Linked DNA regions of Homo sapiens: region 1 is linked to region 2. The links are contacts of gene promoters, found by promoter capture Hi-C in human tissues and cell types (Jung and others, 2019). All regions are on one chromosome and are shown on one strand. The core of a region is centred on a gene start or on the middle of the fragment in contact, and the rest is flanking DNA. Distances in the headings are between cores, read along the strand shown. Region 1 overlaps USP18 (ubiquitin specific peptidase 18). Region 2 holds the start of MICAL3 (microtubule associated monooxygenase, calponin and LIM domain containing 3).

What was found. Contacts are between HindIII fragments. The study calls those that stand out against the background at their distance.
Region 1: a fragment that was not itself captured here is called in contact with the fragment with the promoter of MICAL3 in region 2 in 2 of the 25 tissues and cell types used here (dorsolateral prefrontal cortex and lymphoblastoid cells).

What each region holds. Positions count from the first base shown.
Region 1 is chr22:18,151,785-18,155,862 of GRCh38, forward strand. All of the region lies in intron 1 of USP18 (ubiquitin specific peptidase 18), which reads left to right. Among named protein-coding and RNA genes, the nearest start is that of USP18, 3.7 kb to the left of the region's middle. RefSeq lists enhancers at 806-1,055, 3,538-4,039. The HindIII fragment of the contact is 3,638 bases long and covers 1-3,297 here.
Region 2 is chr22:18,022,982-18,027,147 of GRCh38, forward strand. MICAL3 (microtubule associated monooxygenase, calponin and LIM domain containing 3) reads right to left here and starts at 1,580. Exons shown (of 32, transcript NM_015241.3): 1 at 1,300-1,580. RefSeq lists a silencer at 1,308-1,717. The HindIII fragment of the contact is 7,498 bases long and covers 1-4,166 here.

The DNA of each region.
Region 1 (4,078 bases), core at 229-2,728, 130 kb after region 2:
GGTGGCTCACGCCTGTAATCCCAGCAATTTGGGAGGCCGAGGCAGGTGGATCACGAGGTCAGGAGATCAAGACCATCCTAGCTAACACGGTGCAAACCCATCTACTAAAAATAAAAAATATTAGCTGGGCGTGGCGGCAGGCGCCTGTAGTCCCAACTACTCGGGAGGCTGAGGCAGGAGAATGGCGTGAACCTGGGAGGCGGAGCTTGCAGTGAGCCAAGATCCGGCCACTGCACTCCAGCCTGGGCGACAGAGGGAGACTCCGTCTCAAAAATAAAAATAAAAATAAAAAAAGAAAAAAGAAATGCAAAATAATGTGAACACGTCATCGAGACTGCGGTCTACAATTGTGGTTGCCATGATGGGGTGGGTCGGAAGACACCGAGGCTGCTTGAATCATGTTCCTGGCAGGTTAATTTTGTTCCTTTTAGGGCATCTAAATGTTGGAGTTGGCTTTCCTGGCAGAGAGTCCAGTTGTGAGTGGAGTATTGGGTGGAGGCCCCACCCTCCCCAGGTTTTCTGCAGCTTGTTCCTGGCTCTTCTGGGGCTTCTCTGAGGACCCCGATTGGTCCTGGGGCTTCTTTAGTGGTGGGCCTGGGCCAGTTCCTTCCGTTGCTCACCTCTCCCCGAAGCTTAAGGATAACATTTCGGGAAGATCATGAGAGAACGTGAACCAAAAAAAAAAAAAAAAATTCAGGTAGGGTGGGAGCTAAGTTAGTTTAGTATTTGGGATTTTTGTTTTGTTTTGTTTGAGACAGAGTCTCAAACAAAGACCCCGCGCCTGGCCTGGGGGTCTTTTTTTGAGTCAGCAGTTGAGTTTGAAAATCCCCTTCCTTGGAATCCGCCCAGGCTGTTTTCTCTGGTGGATGCTTATTGCCCCTGCTAACTTCAGCTGCGGTCTCTCTGCTCGCCTTGCCCTCCCCATCCTCCTTAGACCTTTTAAGCTTCACTTTCCTTTCCTTGCTGCCCCGCCTCCCTGTCTCCCCAGTGTGATCTACCCTGAAAGGCTGCTGTATTTTGTTTCCCTTTGGGACCGAGCCTGCTCAAATGATCTGCTCCATGAGGTTTTACTGCTATATCCTACTGAAGTATCTGGGAGGTCTTGGCGGAGAAGAGGACAACATCTTGGAAAATGCAGCCTGGAACCTCTCTGCTCTCTTTCATCAGCTTTCCCTCAATGATGAGCTCAAAATCCTCTTTCTTGCTGATGGAATTGTCTGCTGTCATCATTTCAGTTGAGTCCTCCTAGGCTGGGCCTTGTAAGAAGAACAACTGTTTATAACTATTGAAAGTCAATATTTACTAAGAAAAAGAGGTTGTTGTTATCTGAGCCATCCAACATGAATTTAAGAATATATTCCAGGCTGGGCGCGGTGGCTCATGCCTGTAATCCCAGCACTTTGGGAGGCCGAGATGGGTGGATCACCTGAGGTCAGGAGTTCAAGACCAGCCTGGCCAACATGGTGAAACCCCGTCTCTACTAAAAATACAAAAATTAGCCATGCGTGGTGGCACATGCCTGTAGTTCCAACTATTTGGGACACTAAGGCAGGGGAAGTGCTTGAACTCGGGAGGCAGAGGTTGCAGTGAGCTGAGATTGTACCACTGCACTCCAGCCTGGGTAAAAAGAGTGAAATTCCATCTCAAAAAAAAAAAAGGAGACAGGGTCTTGCCCTGTTGCCCAGGCTGGAGTGCCGTGGCACGATCATAACTCACTGTGGCCTCAAATTCCTGGGCTCAACTGATTCTCCTGCCTCAGTCTCCCAAGTAGCTGGGACCACAAGTACATGCCACCATGCTAGGCTAATTTTATTTTTATTTTTAGAAAATAAAATATTTTTTATTTTATTTAGGCAACATGCTATGTTGCCTAGACTGGTCTTGAACTCCTGGCTTCAAGCTATCCTCTTGCCTCAGCCAACCAAAGTGCTGGGATTGCAGGTGTGAACTGCCATGCCTGGCTTTCTATTCTCTATTTCTAGGAGATAAGCTTTTTGAGCTTTCACATATGAGTGTGAACATGTGGTATTTATCTTTCTGTGCCTAGGTTATTCCACTTAACGTAATGTACTCCAGGCTCATCCATGTTGATGGGAATTACAGGATTTCATTCTCTTGTAATGGCTGAATAACATCCCATTTTGTGTATATAGTCCACATGTTCTTTATCCATTCCTCTTTTGATAGACACTTAGGTTGATTCCGTATCTCGGGTATTATGAGCAGTGCTGCAGTAAACATGAGAGTGCAAATATCTCTTCAACATACTGATTCCCTTTCCTTTGGATATATATTCAGCAGTGGCATTACTAGATCATGTGGTATATCTATTTTTAGGTTTTTAAGGAATCTCCATACTGTTTTCCATAATGGCTCTACTAATTTACATTCCCACCAATGATTTGGTTGAGTTTATTCCTCACTCTGAGCAGCATGTTAGCTGGACTTAAACCCCGTCCAGCTTGTCTACATCTGGCCCATCACTTGCCAGTGGGAAAGGCACTTACTTCTTTGTATCTCAGTTTTCTCATCTGTCAAATGGAAATATAACAGTAATTAATTCACATGGCTGTGTAAGGATAAATAAGACAGTACATATAAAAGGCTTTCACCTTTTATAAGAAATAGTGCTTCGATGTTACCCATTATTATTATTTTATTTCATCTTATTTATTTATTTAGATACAAGGTCTCATTTGTTGCCCAGGCTGGAGTGTAGTGGCACAATCATAGTTCAGTGCAGCCTCAAACTCCTGGCCTCAAGTGATCCTCCTCCTTCACCCTTCTCAGTATTTGGGGCCACAGGCGTGCACCACTATGACCATCTAAATTTTTTTTTAGAGATGGGGTCTCAGTATGTTGCCCGGGCTAGTCTTGAACTCCTGGGCTCAAGTGATCCTCCCACCTCAGCCTCCCAAACTGCTGGGATTACAGGCCTGAGCCACCATGCCAGGCCTCATCTCTATATCTTTAGGGTTAGTCACTGGCACCTTAATTTGTTCATTTGGTGATGTCATGTTTCTCTGATTGACCTTGATCCTTATGGCTGTGTGTCAATGTCTGTGCATTGACATAGGTACCTAAGCCAGTCTTCATTGCCTGGCTTTGTTTGGGCTCGTCTTTCATCAGGAAACCCATAGGAGATTAGGGAGAGGCTGATTGGTCAGGACCCTAAGCCCATGACTGCTTCAGCTGTTGTAGTGCTGGGGGGTGCTCTAAGCCCAGCATCACTGTGGTTGGAATTCTTTGGCCACTGAGGCTGACACAGCCCTGGGTTATGCCTGAAGGCCATAGCTGCCGAGACTGGCACAGCACTGGGGCACGCCCAAGACCCACAGCTGTGATGGCGTGCTTGCTGCTGCTGAAGTTATTCAGGGCCCAGGGCCACTGTAGTTGTCAGGTAGTGATGTGGGCCAGATCGCCAGTCCCTGTTACTGGGGCTGTGGGTTCTCATCTGGCACTAGGGTGGGGTGAGATCTGCCTGTGGGTACTGGTCTAGTATCAGGGTGATGAGGCTCTGCCCAGTACTGGGTTTTACTGTAGTGAGCCTAGTCCTGGTGACAGGTGACAGCGTGCTGGCAGCCATCACAGCCCTCGCTCGCTCTCGGTGCCTCCTCGGCCTTGGCGCCCACTCTGGCCACGCTTGAGGAGCCCTTCAGCCCACCGCTGCACTGTGGGAGCCCCTTCCTGGGCTGGCCGAGGCTGGAGTGGGCTCCCTTAGCTTGCGGGGAGGTGTGGAGGGAGAGGCAGGGGCGGGAACTGGGGCTGCACGCGGTGCTTGTGGGCCAGCGCGAGTTCCGAGTGGGCGTGGGCTCGGCGGGCCCGCACTCGGAGCGGCCAGCCGGCCGGCCTGCAAGCCCCAGGCAGTAAGGGGCTTAGCACTTGGGCCAGCAGCTGCTGTGCTCGATTTCTCGCCGGGCCTTAGCTGCCTCCTGGCAGGGCAGGGCTCGGGACCTGTAGCCCGCCATGCCTGAGCCTCCCCACCCCGCAGCCATGGGCTCCTGTGCGGACCAAGCCTCCCCGACCAGCGCCGCTCCCGGCTCCACGCCGCCGAGTCCCACCGACCACCCAAGGGCTG
Region 2 (4,166 bases), core at 330-2,829:
TTCATCCTGAGCTTCTTGGAGCAGCCCAAGGCCCTGCCAGCTCTCTTTGCCTGTAGCTTGTAGGCATTTATGACAGTTGCATACCCTGCCCTCCAACGGCAGCCTGAGAGACTGAACTATTACCAAGTTCACCTGGAAAAATGTCACCCTGATTGATTAGAATGGTGGGTGGCCATCTTAGCTCATTAGAATCACCTGGGAAGTTAAAAAAAAAAAATCCAGTATGCACTCCAAATTTTCCCACCACCACTCCTCCCCACAAAAAGAAAATTTAAAAAATCCCAGTGTTTGGGCCATATCCCAGACCAATTAAGTCAGAATCTCCAGGGATTGGACCCAGGTAGCAGGATTTCTAAAAATCTCCCCAGCAGCCAGGCCTGAGAGCTAATGAATAGCACCACAGGGCCCAGCCTTTCAGCCTACAGCTTGTCTCGGTTTCACCCTTTTTTCATTTCTTTACAATGAAAATTCTAAATAGTTGATCACAGTGCCAGACCAATAAGAAAGCATTTTAGGGAGGAGAGAGGAGGGAAGGGGTTGGCAGGCACGGAGAGGACTTGACACACAGAAAGCATTTTGCTATGGAGTCATAACCATTTGATTCTAAGACACATGCAGCCTCCAGAAGTCATGCGGCCCCGCCCTCTGCTTCCAGGAGGGAATGAACTTGGCCGTCCTTTTGTTGCACACGCCCGGGAGCTGCGCCGGCGCAGCGCGCCCTGCAGCCTGGGAGCGCAAGCGTGTGCGCCACTGGTCCTGGGCCACCACCGCGCGCCGCGGGCGGGTGCAGGGCCCCTCTGCCGCAGGGAAACCGGCGTTCCCCGCGCAAAGCAGCCGCTGCTCCTAATGAGCTCATGGGTTCACCGCGCTGAGCTAGCCAGAGCGGACCCGGCTTCGCCAAGGGCCTGCTGGCTGTCCTGACACCTGGCCTACCTCGGGGGTGCCTGGGTACGCTCTTCCTTTGCCTGCGGGATAGAAGCACAATGAAAATGGGGTGGACGTGGCTGGGAGACAGCCCTGCTCTCTGGCAGGCTCTGGGGAGTGTGTGGTACGTGGCATCCGCACTGGTGGGTGTCGTGCGATGATCGAGACACGGATACTGGGTGTCTTTCCCACTAGGGGAGAGAGGGCTGCGTTTAGAGGGAAACGAAATAGATCCGAGAAACACAAAGATGTCACAAAGGAAACGCTTCCCCACCATAAGCAATCTAAATAAATGATTCTTAGAAGACATCCAGCAAAACACATAACCTTGTCATTTAGATTCGCTCGCCCACAGGGGGACTGGAGGGTACTCACCGACTAGGGCTTCACAGCCGCATCACCGCCGGCGGTGGGCGCCTGCCTCGGCAGGGGCAGGGTGGGTGCCCGCAGGGCACAGGTGCCGCCGTGGCTGCTCGCACAACCCCTGCAGCTGCGATCCCGCCCAGTTAGCCTCGGGGGCTGCACAGCCCAGCCCCCTCGCCCAGGGCCCAGGGGTTCTCAGGCCGCGCGGCGAGGACGGAGGGCTGCCCCGGGTGCCTGCCTACGCGGGCGCTCCCCGCCGGGACTCCGCCGGGGCTGCAGGAGCGCGCGCTGCTGGCTGGGCGGGCTGCGGCTCCGCGCGAGCGCCGTGGCAACGCGAGCGGGCGCCCCCAGGAGGCCGCGGAGCTGCGGCGTGGGACGCTTGGGTGAGGCTCAAGCCAAAACCAAACCCAAACCATTTCTCCTCCTCCCCATCTTTTCATTTTCTCCCCTTCTTTTCATTTTCTCCCCTTCTCCAACCCCTTCCTCGACACACGTTACTAGCACCTCGAAGGTTGGAAATTCCAGCACTCTCCTGAGGCCTCTTCCCCAGCGAATCCTGCTAACCACGCAGTCGGTGTTCGCTGTGTGTTCGAGCACACACCTCCTTGCAGTGGCTTCAGCACCCAGGTCTCCGGGAGCCAGTGAAGGAACCAAGTGTTGGATACTGAGCAAGTCGCGTAACATCTGAGTAGTCGTGAAATTGAAATTTCAACGGTATAAAGGACACGACGTTGTCTTACAGATTGAAAAATGCTATAAAATGAAGTTCTTACTGTTACTATGATGATGACCCTGGAGATCAGCGCAGAGCCCTGGGGGAGGGCTACAGTTGCAAGCGCTCCAAGGATCAGATCGCGCACTCCTCCCCACCGGAGAAAACCTCTTGATGCCGGAGCCCGGGCAGCCTCTTCCACACTTCCAGCCAGCCCCTTCCACACTTCCAGCCAGCCCCGGCATTGCCACAGCCCGTGGAGCTGGACAGAAATCCACCAGGCACTAAAATAAGTTAGATGGAAGACGGGATGGATTTGACCAAATTCCTATCAGCATCTGCTCAGTATAATTGCAACATTATAATCAGAGCAGAAAGAAGCCCAGAGATTATTTTGTCTTCAAGGATCATTGGCCTCAGTATTATCTCCATCTGAAGCTGTGTTGTCCAAAGCAGATTGACTCCAGCCGGCCAGCTCAGAAGAGGGCCGACTCTGGGCTGGCGACTCCTTGAGAAGGGCTCTCTCTGGTCCCAGGTGGTATTTACTTAACCGTATCATCATCTGCTTCATTCGTGTTCCCTTCATGTCCATCATGTGAGGACGGGAACTGACAGGGCCAGGGTGTCGGCTCAGAGGCAATCTCTGCTCATCCTCTAGAGCCCCACTTCATCACCCAGCCACTCTGTCCACTGTCTCCCCACCTACAAACCTGCAGGTGTTCTGCCCCAGTACTAGAATAAGGGAACACATTTTTACTGAGCTCTGACAATGTGACTGGGCTTTTCAGGAGCTATTTCATTTAATTTTTAATGTAAAACATTGTTTTACATATTAAGAACCTAAAAGCACAAACAGTAAGTAACTTGCTTGTGGAAGCTTATGCAGCGAGATAAGTGGTAAAGCTGCAATTCCCAGTTTTGTTTGATGCCACAGCTGAAGGTGCAAGGCCATCTGGGCACGGCCTGAGTGGATATTAGGGAAAAATGCCCTAAAAGGTCCAGAATCTCTAATAATTTCTCCTACTTCTCATTTTATTTTATTTTTGACGCTGGAGTTTTTTTTTTTTTTTTGAGTCAGGATCTTGCTCTATTGCCCAGGCTGGAGGGCAGTGGTGCAATTTCAGCTCACTGCAACCTCTGCCTCCCAAGTTCAAGCGATTCTCCTGCCTCAGCCTCCTGCATAGCTGGGACTACAGGCATGCACCACCATACCCAGCTAATTTTTGTGGAGATGGGGTTTTGCCACATGGCCCAGGCTGGTCTCAAACTCCTGAGCTCAAGCGATCTGCCCTCATCAGCCTCCCAAAGTGCTGGGATAACAGGCATGAGCCACTGCACTAGGCGAAAACGTTTATTTTAGAAAAACTGAAAAATATAGAAACATAAAGGAAGAAAAGCATTCATAATCTCATCACCTAGAGAAAGCCATTAGTAATATTCATATTTCTTTCCAGTCTTTTTTCTAGCTTTCTAGCTTTAAACTAAGTTGAGATAAAACCACACACACACACACACAGACACACAAGTGCATCCTGCTTTTTGTTAAAAATAACTTTGTGGGAAATTCTTCCTCCTTTGAGGATTTTTAAAAAACATTAATTTAAATGTCATACAATATTTTTATCATATGAATATCTCATAATTTCCCTTTTATTGAATATTTCCAACTTTTATTGATTGTAAATAATGGCAATAAAATTTTTTCTTCATAAATCTTGCTCCTATGTGTGAATAATTTCCTTCCAGGTGAGTCCCAGAAGTGGAATATTGAGTCCAAGGGTATTAACATTTTAAAGACTTTCCAATCCTCTCCAATGGGGATATCCAACTCACCCAGCCCCGTTCCCCACAGGACCTGCACGGTCCCACTCCACTGCCCTCCACACATCTGTTGTGCCCTCACCTGGTATATAGCATTTAAATTATTTAGCTCACAAACTCTTTGGGAAACTAGGGTTAGTTCTTTGTAGCTTTTTGGTTGATTATTTTGATTTACTCAGAAAAACGCAGTATCTCCTTTACTATTTTAAAATCCTCAATAAGTAAGAATAGGGAGAGAAAATAAGAGAAAGGGGTGAGCTTTCCAAGGCCCTGGGTTAAGCCAGGGATGCCGGAGCTTGGAGCTCACTTGATACTGACCCTGCTGATGGCCTCAGCCTCAGTCCTG